3 separate regions of the Homo sapiens genome follow, and all the other regions are linked to region 2. Evidence: promoter capture Hi-C in human tissues and cell types (Jung and others, 2019). All regions are on one chromosome and are shown on one strand. Each heading gives the region's core, a stretch centred on a gene start or on the middle of the fragment in contact. The rest is flanking DNA. Distances are from core to core; before and after follow the strand shown. Region 1 overlaps LOC105376652 (a long non-coding RNA gene). Region 2 holds the start of SYT13 (synaptotagmin 13). Region 3 overlaps PRDM11 (PR/SET domain 11).

The links. The method cuts DNA at HindIII sites, captures the fragments that hold promoters and counts their contacts. A contact is called where the count stands out against the background at its distance.
Region 1: a contact is called between a fragment that was not itself captured here and the fragment with the promoter of SYT13 in region 2, in 1 of the 25 tissues and cell types used here (hippocampus).
Region 3: a contact is called between a fragment that was not itself captured here and the fragment with the promoter of SYT13 in region 2, in 1 of the 25 tissues and cell types used here (dorsolateral prefrontal cortex).

What each region holds. Positions count from the first base shown.
Region 1 is chr11:45,130,415-45,133,593 of GRCh38, forward strand. The region is part of intron 3 of LOC105376652 (a long non-coding RNA gene); the gene reads right to left. It also overlaps a transcript of PRDM11 not described here. Among named protein-coding and RNA genes, the nearest start is that of PRDM11, 15 kb to the right of the region's middle. The HindIII fragment of the contact is 4,739 bases long and covers 1-3,179 here.
Region 2 is chr11:45,284,874-45,287,973 of GRCh38, forward strand. It overlaps SYT13 (synaptotagmin 13), which reads right to left and starts at 1,468. Exons shown (of 6, transcript NM_020826.3): 1 at 1,152-1,468. The coding sequence starts at 1,334. RefSeq lists an enhancer at 863-1,649. The HindIII fragment of the contact is 8,257 bases long and covers 1-3,100 here.
Region 3 is chr11:45,154,233-45,157,305 of GRCh38, forward strand. All of the region lies in intron 1 of PRDM11 (PR/SET domain 11), which reads left to right. Among named protein-coding and RNA genes, the nearest start is that of PRDM11, 9.1 kb to the left of the region's middle. The HindIII fragment of the contact is 3,876 bases long and covers 1-3,073 here.

The DNA.
Region 1 (3,179 bases), core at 96-2,595, 150 kb before region 2:
ACAAGAAAGGATATTCAAATGGCCAATCAACACATGAGAAGGTGTTCAACATTATCACTCATCAGGAAAAAGTCAATTGAAACCACAATGAACATCACTACAAACTTTCTAGAATGAGTAAAAAGAAAAAGATTGTGAATATTAAGTGTTGGCAAGAACGTGGCACACCTGGAACTCACTCATGTATTGTTTTTGAGAGTGTAAATTGATACAATTACTTTGGAGAACTGTTTGGAAATTTCGTATTAAGTGTACACCAAATTTTGATATTTACAGCTAAAAGCATTCTAACTGTTGCAAATAGGGTCATATTGCTTATATTATTTTGAGCATGTGCTTTCATTTTACAATATACCATGAACATTTTCATCCGTCAATAACTTTTTCCATAATAGGATTTTTAATGGCTGCACTGTATTCAACGTGTTATGAGACGTTTAGGTGTTGCCAGTTTGAATTAAAAATTTAAGCAATTTGAATTGTAGGTAACTACCCAAGATACATTAGAGTACACATGTCCATCAAAAAAGCATGTATGAAACTTTACAGCAGCTTTGTTTAAAATAGCCAAGAGTTAGACACAACTCAAATGTCCATCAACAGTAAAATGGATCATTGGTATAGTCATATAATGGGGATACCACACAGCAAAAAATGGAACAAACCTACTATTCTCAACAACATGAATGAATCACACAGATACAATGATGAGCACAAGGAGTAGGTGTAAAAGTCAACATACATGTAATTTCATTTATGTGAAGTTCAAGAATTGGCAAAACTCACTTGTGGTGATAGAATCTGAGTAATGGTTACTTCTGTGGGTACTGGCTGGGTGGAGGAACAAATGATTCCCCCATGACTCGAAATGCTCTGTTTCTTGATTTGGGTGTTGGTTATATGAGGGTTTTCAGGTTGTGAGAATTAAGCATGATTTGTGTAATTTTCTGTATATACGTTATACTTCAATGCAAAGTTAAAAATAGAATGCTAACAAGGAAAGCTGGTAACAATGGCAGATTACAAATCAATGCAAAGTTTTGGAGGGAAATTTAAGGAAAAGCCTTGATAATATATACAACCATTACCCAATATTTTGTTTCTAGAAAATTACCCCTGAAACCAAACAAATATGCAAAGATTTGTGCAGGGTGTTGTCACACCATTATGTATAATGGCAAAAACTGGCAACACCTAAATGTCTCACAACATGTTGAATACAGTGCAGCCATTCAAAATCCTATTACAGGAGTAAGTTATTGACTTTTGAAAATGTTCATGGTATATTATGAAATGAAAGAGCATGCTCAAAATAATACAAGCAATATGATCCTATTTGCAACAGTTAGAATGCTTTTAGCTGCAAATAATGAAATACCTTTCTAAAATAAGGGCAGATTATTATCTCAAATAACAGGAGTCCAAAGATAGGGCAATTTCAGGGTTGGCTAATGAAGTTGCTCAAAAATGTTATCCGGGATCTAGATTTTTTCTTTGGTGTTGGTTTTTGTTTTCAGCCTAGTTCTTCCTTGCTTGCTGGATGGCTGCAGCAGTTCCCTGAATCTCCACCTTATAGAGCCAAGCTGAGCAACAGAAAGAGGACCATCATCTTCTGTGGACCTCTAAGAGCAAGGAAAACATTCCCTCAAAGTCATTCTTGTGCATCTCACTGGCCAGAACTGTATCACATGTCCAATGTCTAAACTATTCACAGAAAAGGGAAATGGGATCACTGTCATTATCTTAAACCAATCATGATTGGATTCCCTGGAGCTGCGCTGTGCAGGGGGTCATTTTCCCTGAGCCCATGACAACAAGGAGCTTGAACACTTCTACAAAACAAGAGCTTTGCCAGCCAAGAAGAAGTGAGCAGAAGTGAAGACAGACTGCCACTGAATAGGCAACCCACAGTGTTCACCCCATCAAATACATACCAAAAAGGCATAAACCAAGCTCTGAACTTGCTCATAACCCTCACCTCTGGGTAGTAAAACTGTGGTTGATTTATTTTAGTGTTTTGCTCATGGTTTTTGTCACTGGACATGTATTATGTTATAATAAAAAAGTCTTAAATGTTATTTTTAAAACAATAATTTAAAAATAAAAGGGAGCTTGCAGATCATTAAGCACATCCCCAGCACTTTGCAAATTGAAAAGACATGTTCCTGAAAGGTAGAGTAATGCTTATGAAGCCACAGTCATTTCCTTTCTACTTCTGTTTCCATTCTGTTCCTCCATCCTTTCACAATCTGCCTCTGAGCTACTCAAAGTCTGACTTCAAAGTGATGCTGGATGGAAGGGACCTCTAAGGACATCGAAGTCAACCTCTTACAGGAAACCCAGAATGACAGCAGCTTACTCAAGGTCACCCAGCTACCTAGGGAGAAGACCCAAAGATAGTGATTGGCGCTTTAGAAATCCTCTGATGAGTATACTTCTCCAATTCCTAAAGCCAGCCCAGGGACAGCAAAGATTGAGCAAAACCCAGGAAAATACTGATGGCTCAGCCATCTTGCTGTGGAAAGAGGAGCAACACCCTGCTTAAGAATGTGCCACACATACCCCATCCCCATCCCCATCCCCAAATTAAAGTAAAAGTCCTCTTTCTGGTGTTACCTCTCTGCTGTTAACCTTGCCTTCTCTGCCAGCTGCATTCCCATAAGCTGGAAACACATCCAATTTTCTCCCAACCTTTAAACAATAAAAATATTTAACTCTGCCTTCTCTTTCTAACACTTTTCATCCAAATAGCTCAAAAAGATAATCTGTGCTTTCTTTTTCTAATTCCTTACCTCTCATTTTCTCCTCAACTCATTCCAATCTGCTATACCACTTCCATGGGGTAATACCACTAAAATTGTTCTTGTTAAGGACATAAGTGACTCCTATCATGAAATCTGAGGAAATCCTTAAGTTCTTATCTTACTGGACCTCCCTGTTGCATTTAACCCTATTGTCCACTTTCTCTTTCTGAATGCTCTGCTCTCTTGGTTCCCAAGATGACTTGCTTTCCCCAATTCTCATAACTTTCTGGCCATAACTTTTTCTTCATAGGTGGGAAGATGGATAAAGACATATTTCTGATGATATTGTTTTAACAGCTTGATCCAGCCATGCCTGAAGCCTGACCCAGATTTTTTTAGTTATAGGAGCCAACACGTTATTCTTTTTGCTCAAAC
Region 2 (3,100 bases), core at 218-2,717:
ACTGTTCTTGGATTATAAGTGCCTCAAGGACAGCAGCCATTTCCTTTCCACTCTCACTGTACAGTGACTGACACAGGCCCCACACAACTGGGTCCTCTGAGCTTTTGAATTATTGATTGGAAAAAGGAAGATGGAGTCACAGCATTTTAGTGCCACTCCTGGAACCATACAGTCTATAAGGGATCTAGAGGGCCTTTAGGAGGTCCTTTAAGTCATGCCCCTGCCCCAGGGCCATCCTTCCTCAAATCACTCTAGCAGGACTCTTTGCCTCCTGGTTCTCCAGAGAACATTCTGCATTCTGTACTTTGGAAATGCATCCTGGAGGTCACAGCCTATGCAGGGAAATCCTTCCAAACTGCTTCCCCAGACCCCTTCTGCTGCTCTTTACAATGGGAGCACGGGCTATTTCCTGCACGAAGGGGCTCTGGCCATGAGCAAATGCATGGGATAAAAGCCCTCCTGTCTCCAGGGACGTCTGCAGAGACATCTTGGGGGAGGCCATACCAACCCCCTCTGACTGGCTGGAGCTCAGAGCTGCTAGGGGGTGGGGAAGAGTCCTTCAGGTTCCTCCCGGATTCAGCTCTCTAGACCCCGCTAGCTAGCTTCCCAGCTCCTGCGGGACCGCGGCCACCTCCCCTCTGGCTTTGCAGGCATTACCTCTTCTCAGCTCTGGCAGGACTTGCCCTACCCTGGCTCCACAACCACCACCCATCTCCCTCTCACAGACCCCAGTCTTCTTCCCAATTCTGCAAACTCCTCATTCTCTGGTACCTCTCAGGGTCTTCCCTAACCCTGGCGATTCCCCTCCCAGCCTCCCTCTCCTCTTACCCTTCCCAGCCCTAATTCTTATCCAGGTCCCCTTTCCTGTCCCCTCCCTTTAGGTCTCGCTGCTGGCCCCCATTCTTCTCTCAGTCCCCACAAGCTCGCCGCTCCCTAATTCTCCTTCAGGTCTCGTCTCCCCCATCCCCTAGCCTCCCCCATCCCCCTACCTTTTTGACTCCTTGACCTGTCCTCCAACGCGTCTGCTGTCCCCTCCCCGCCAAGCTTTGTCGCGCAAAGATCCACGACCGCCTCCCACCCCAGTTCCCCCTCTGCAGCTGCCCGGCAACCCCGCCTTGCCCGGGAAGGGCCTGCGCGCCGCCCCCGCTCACCTGTTGTGCAGACCCGAGCAAGCTGGGCTTCGCCTTCTCCAGGTCGGGGTCCTGGTCCCGCGGCAGCAGCCCCTTCTTGGGGTGCATGTGCCGACACAGGCAGGTGACCCCGCACAACGCGAGGATGCTGGTGGCTGTGCCCAGCGTGGCGCCCAGCGCGATCACAGGCACCGACAGCACCATGGTGCCCGCTCCCGGCGAGGGGCTGGGTCCCGCAGCCGCTCACCTTCCCCGGGCCGGGCCCGCCTCCAGGCAGCTCCCGGGATCCGGGCGAGCCAGCAGCTCTCCCGCCGCCAGAGGGGCGGGGACGGAGGGAGGGAGGACGGCTGCGAGGACGTCAGAGGAGGCTGGACCCGCAGCCACGTCAACCGGCAACCCCCTCCCCGCCAACACGTGACCGGACCCCCACCCCAACAGGAGCCGGAGCCTTCCAGGTGGAAGGAGCCTTGGGGTTGTTTCAGGCCATTCTTAATGCTTTGTGTACAACAGGGGACAACTGGGCCCAAGAAGTGCTGGAGCTTGCGGAGGTCACACTGTGTTAGAGGACAAACCTGGGCTCCAACCAGATCTGCGACTCTAGGAGTCACTTTCCCAGACTACTAGCTCCTTGCTCACCCTTCTACCCCAGCAGCTGGCCAAGCTGGCTGTAAAATTGGGTCTTCCGGGAGCTTTTTCAAACACAAAGCTGGAGATTTCCCAGCTCCCCAACCTGGGAGATGGTTCTTACAGGGAAGAGGAACAGGCCACAGGTAGAGGGAACAGATGGGATGTTTGGGTTGAGGCTGTACCTGTGTCCTGCTGAAGATGGACAATACAGCTGCATCCCCTTAAGGGTTGCCCAAGAGTTCACCTTTATTACCTAATCAGCAGGTATTCGCACCTTTATATATAGTTGAGGAAGCCGAGGCTCAGAAGAGAGGTGCACAGGTAGAAAAATCATCACCCTGAACCCAAGCTTATGTTTGCAGATTCCAAGTCCACACTCAAACGGACTTGTCTTAGGAGGATAAAGAAGATAAAATGCAGCAGCTAGGAGTACACACTTGATTCAGAGAGGGTGAGCATAAAACTATGCTTAGAACAAGGGGAAATTAGAATTCCGGGCATGAGGACTGTCTTAGCTCAAGAAAACAGTGGCTTTTTAGTGTTCTTCATTATATGGAGTGTTGAATTTAATTCAGCAGATATTTGCTGTGGGTTGGCTGTGCTCTAGGTGTGCTGGGCATGTGTGAAAAGGGATGTAGGTGATTTCATCCACAACAGAGCTTTCACATTTCTATGAGCCAATGTCTCCTAAATCTATAGCCTCTCCAGCCAGACCTTTTCCTCTGAGCTGTAGCTGTGACCACCACCTGGGAACCCACCCGTCCTCCAGTTTTTCAGCTATCTACACTTGCATAAAAACCCACCGATGACTTACTGGCTTAGACCAGTTATTGTGTTACTTGTCATGATTTCATGGGTTGGCTGGGCTCAGTTGGGTGGTTTTCCTGCTCAACATGTTGTCTTCTGGGACTGCAGTCATCTAGGGGTTCAGCTGGACTGGGACATCAGCTCTCCAGACACCATTGCAGATGGTGCAATGGTGAACTCACGTGGTGAGCAGTAGGTGCTGGCTGCCACTGGGATCACAATGGGGCTGTCAGCTGGTGCATTTTGGTTGTCCTCTATGTCACCTCTCCATGGTGCTGGAGCTGCTCACAGCATGCTGGCTGGATTCTAAGAGGAATGAAGCAGAAGCTGCCAGTTGTCTTAAGGCCTGGGTTCAGAAATTCTAGAACACTATTTGATCAAAACAATAGTCTCCCTCTAGTTCTTTCCTTCAGTGACATCAAAAGGAGGTGTCCAAAATACAAAGCTGATCATGTCACTCACAGCTCTCAAAGGTTCTCCAAGAATAAACCCAAGAGACTCAACCTTTATCCAAATCCCTTTGTGATGTGGTCCCT
Region 3 (3,073 bases), core at 177-2,676, 130 kb before region 2:
GTAGTCCCAGCAACTTGGGAGGCTGAGGCGGGAAGATCACTGGACCCTGGGAGATCGAGGCTGTGATGAGCTGAGATCGCACCACTGTACTCCTGCCTGGGAGACAGAGTGAGACCCTGTCTCAAAAAATAATAAATCAATAAAAGTAGGATTTGATTTATAGAGTGTTGGTTTCAGACCTTCTCCCCATCCCAGGAACCTCACAGGTCAGAAGTTGCGGACACATTCAAACAGACCCGGAGCCTCCGCTGAAATGATACTGGGTACGGGAAGTGGAGTAGGGGTGGGGGCAGATAGCTGCTGCCCATCCTGCTCCCAAGCAGCAGCCTTAGATCAGGGGTTGGTGCTAGTGGTAGGGGGGTCCCTGCTTGCAAAGTGAGGCACCCCAGGCCTCTGGAGCCTTCAGTGCCTTCTAGAGCTTTCCCTTCCAGTCCTGTCTCCCCTACCTCATCCGATCCATAAGAGCAACCAGAACTCTCCTCCTCCCAACTGCACCTTCTCCCGATCCCTGATCACTAGCCCAGGCAGGTTGGCTCTTAAAACCCCCATTTTATAGCTCAGAAAACTGAGGCTCAGAGAGGGGAAGTGACTTAGAGCTCATACAGTTTAGGAAGTAACCAAGCTAACATTCTAACCCCAAATCTAGCACCCCTTCCTCTGCACCCCAGTCCTTCTGGAATCAGAGCAGAATGGGGACCCCAGAGAGTGTTGTTGTAGCCTCTGTACCCTGCTTCCCAAACAGAGAGATTGTCCAGCTACTGCAGGGAGTGTGGCTGGAAGGAGCTTGGGGTAGAAAGGGGGGTAGTGGCCGGTGGGCGCCTTCCCCCAGGCTTGTGTCAGAGTTGAGGGCGAGAGTGGGCCCAGCAGGCAGGAGGATCACTTTGACTAGGGCACTGAGCTGGGCTGGTATGGACGTCACTGAGCAAGTAAATATGGAACCGCCCCCACAATGTCAGCTTTCCCGGAGTGGCTTCTCCCACTATCTCTCACTTTCCCCAAGGGAAAGGGGTGAGGGCCAGGAAAGGATCTGGCTGCCCGATGCCAGGGGATGGAGATGGCCGGCTTGGGAGGCTCCACGATGGCCAAGGGGCATGGGGAGGAGCCCACCAGACCCTCAGCCCCAGAAGGAAGTGAGCTTCTCTTGGGAGCAGCCAACTGGGACCCAGCCAGGGCGGACTCAGCACCGTCATGGCCCAAGGTACAGAGAGGGCGGGCTCTGGGGGTTGCCGGGAGGTGGTTGGCTGGGGCTTGTCCCTGACCTCACAGCCCTTTACTGTTCCAACCCAAACAGAGTGTCATTTTCCCAGGGGCCAGGGGTGCCCCTCTTTAGGCCGGCTGTGTTCCAAGAGAAAGAAAGACCAGCCAGAGGGGGTTTGCATTTGGAGAGGGGGTGCAGGGGTGCCTCAAGGAGGGGTGGAGAGGGAGGAAGGAAAAGCCCCTTAGCCTGAGGGAGGCAGAGGGCAGGGAGGTGAAGTCCTCAAGGGAAATCAGCAAGCTTAGCAGCCAGGGAAACCGGCAGTCTCTCTTGACCCCAGAGAGGAGATATTGGGTCTCCAGAAGAGCAAGCAGAAAAGGAGGATCCAGGGCAGAGTGTCTGGCTGCCAGACCCTGGGCCTTTTATAAACATCAGCGACAGCCGAGCCCAAATGAGTGTGGACGGGCATGTTCCATTCAACCCTCATAGCTGTCCCATGATGCTAGTGTTATTAGGTGCAGTTTACAGAGGTAACATTGAGGCCCAGAGAAGTGAGGTGACTCACCTAAGGTCACACAGCTATGAAAGGCTGAGCCAGGATATGAACCTAGGTCTGTCTGATTCCAGAGTCTGAGCTCTTTATCACAGCATGGGACTGGCTTGCTGGGACTGCAGTGGGAGATAAGGTCAGCCATCCATGCTGGGCAGGAGTTTGGATGGCTAACTTACAGATTCCAAGTTCCTTCCCCTGAGATGATGGGCAGTGTAAAGAAAGTACAGCATATGAGCCACTGTGGCTCAGGCAGGTCACCCTCTCTGTGCCTTTATGCGGCCACTTGAAGAATGGGGATGCCTAGCATAAGGACCGGCCATGTTACAGCATTTTCAAACCTTCCCATCCATTGTCTGGGTCAGCAGATGTTCATGGAGCGGCCCCTTGTGCTCTGGGGTCCAGACGTACACACCTGACTCTTGATGGGCCCTGCACCAGGTTCCTCTTGGAACACTGGGAGCACAGTGGCTCTGCCAGGCAATGGAGACCGTGGTCCGCAGACCTCTGCCCATCCTGAGCTGTGCTGGATGGGTGTATGGTGAGAGACATGCAGACTTTGAGAGAAAGCCTTGAGAAACTTGTTTGGCAACTTGACATTGCCACATCATTTTTAATTTTATTTCACAAAAATATCTGTTGGCATCAGATTGGAAAACTTAAAAAGTAAAGAAGTCACTTCACCTCAAATTTCTTGAGCAGCTCTTGCCTGGGTCTTGGGATTGAAGGTAGGATGCGCCTGGCTTGCTCATGGATATGGGGCAGAGGAGAGCAAGTCATTTCGCCCTGGAGGTGGAGAGGGAGGATCTGGTTAGGCCTCCCAGAGGAGGTGACGATGAGCTGGACCTTGAGGGAGGAGCGGGGGTTTGCCAGGCGGAGGGAGAGGGAAGGGCATTTTAGGCACTGGGAACAGTATGTGCAAAGGCAGGAACAGGAGGACCCCATGGTTCAGGAATGGCAAGCGGTCATGGGTGTTTAGAGAAGCAGTGGAGTTGGCTGGGGAGAGGCAGGTGAGGGCCAGGCCGGGAGGGCCTTGAATGCTGTGTGAAGGAATTGAGACTTTGCCCTGGAGGCACGGGGGAGCTGTCGGTGGTTTGTAAGCAGGGGAGAGAAGTAGTTAGCTTTGCGCCACAGAAACTCTGTCCAGGTGGCAGTGGACTTGAGGTGGCCATGGCTGAGTAGGTGGCTTAGAGCAGTGGTCTCCAACCTTTGGGGCACAAGGGACCATTTCATGAAGGACAATTTTTCCATGGACGGGGTCGGGGAGGATGGTTTGGGGATGAAACTATTCCACTTCAGATCATCAACTGTTCCACCTCGGATCATCA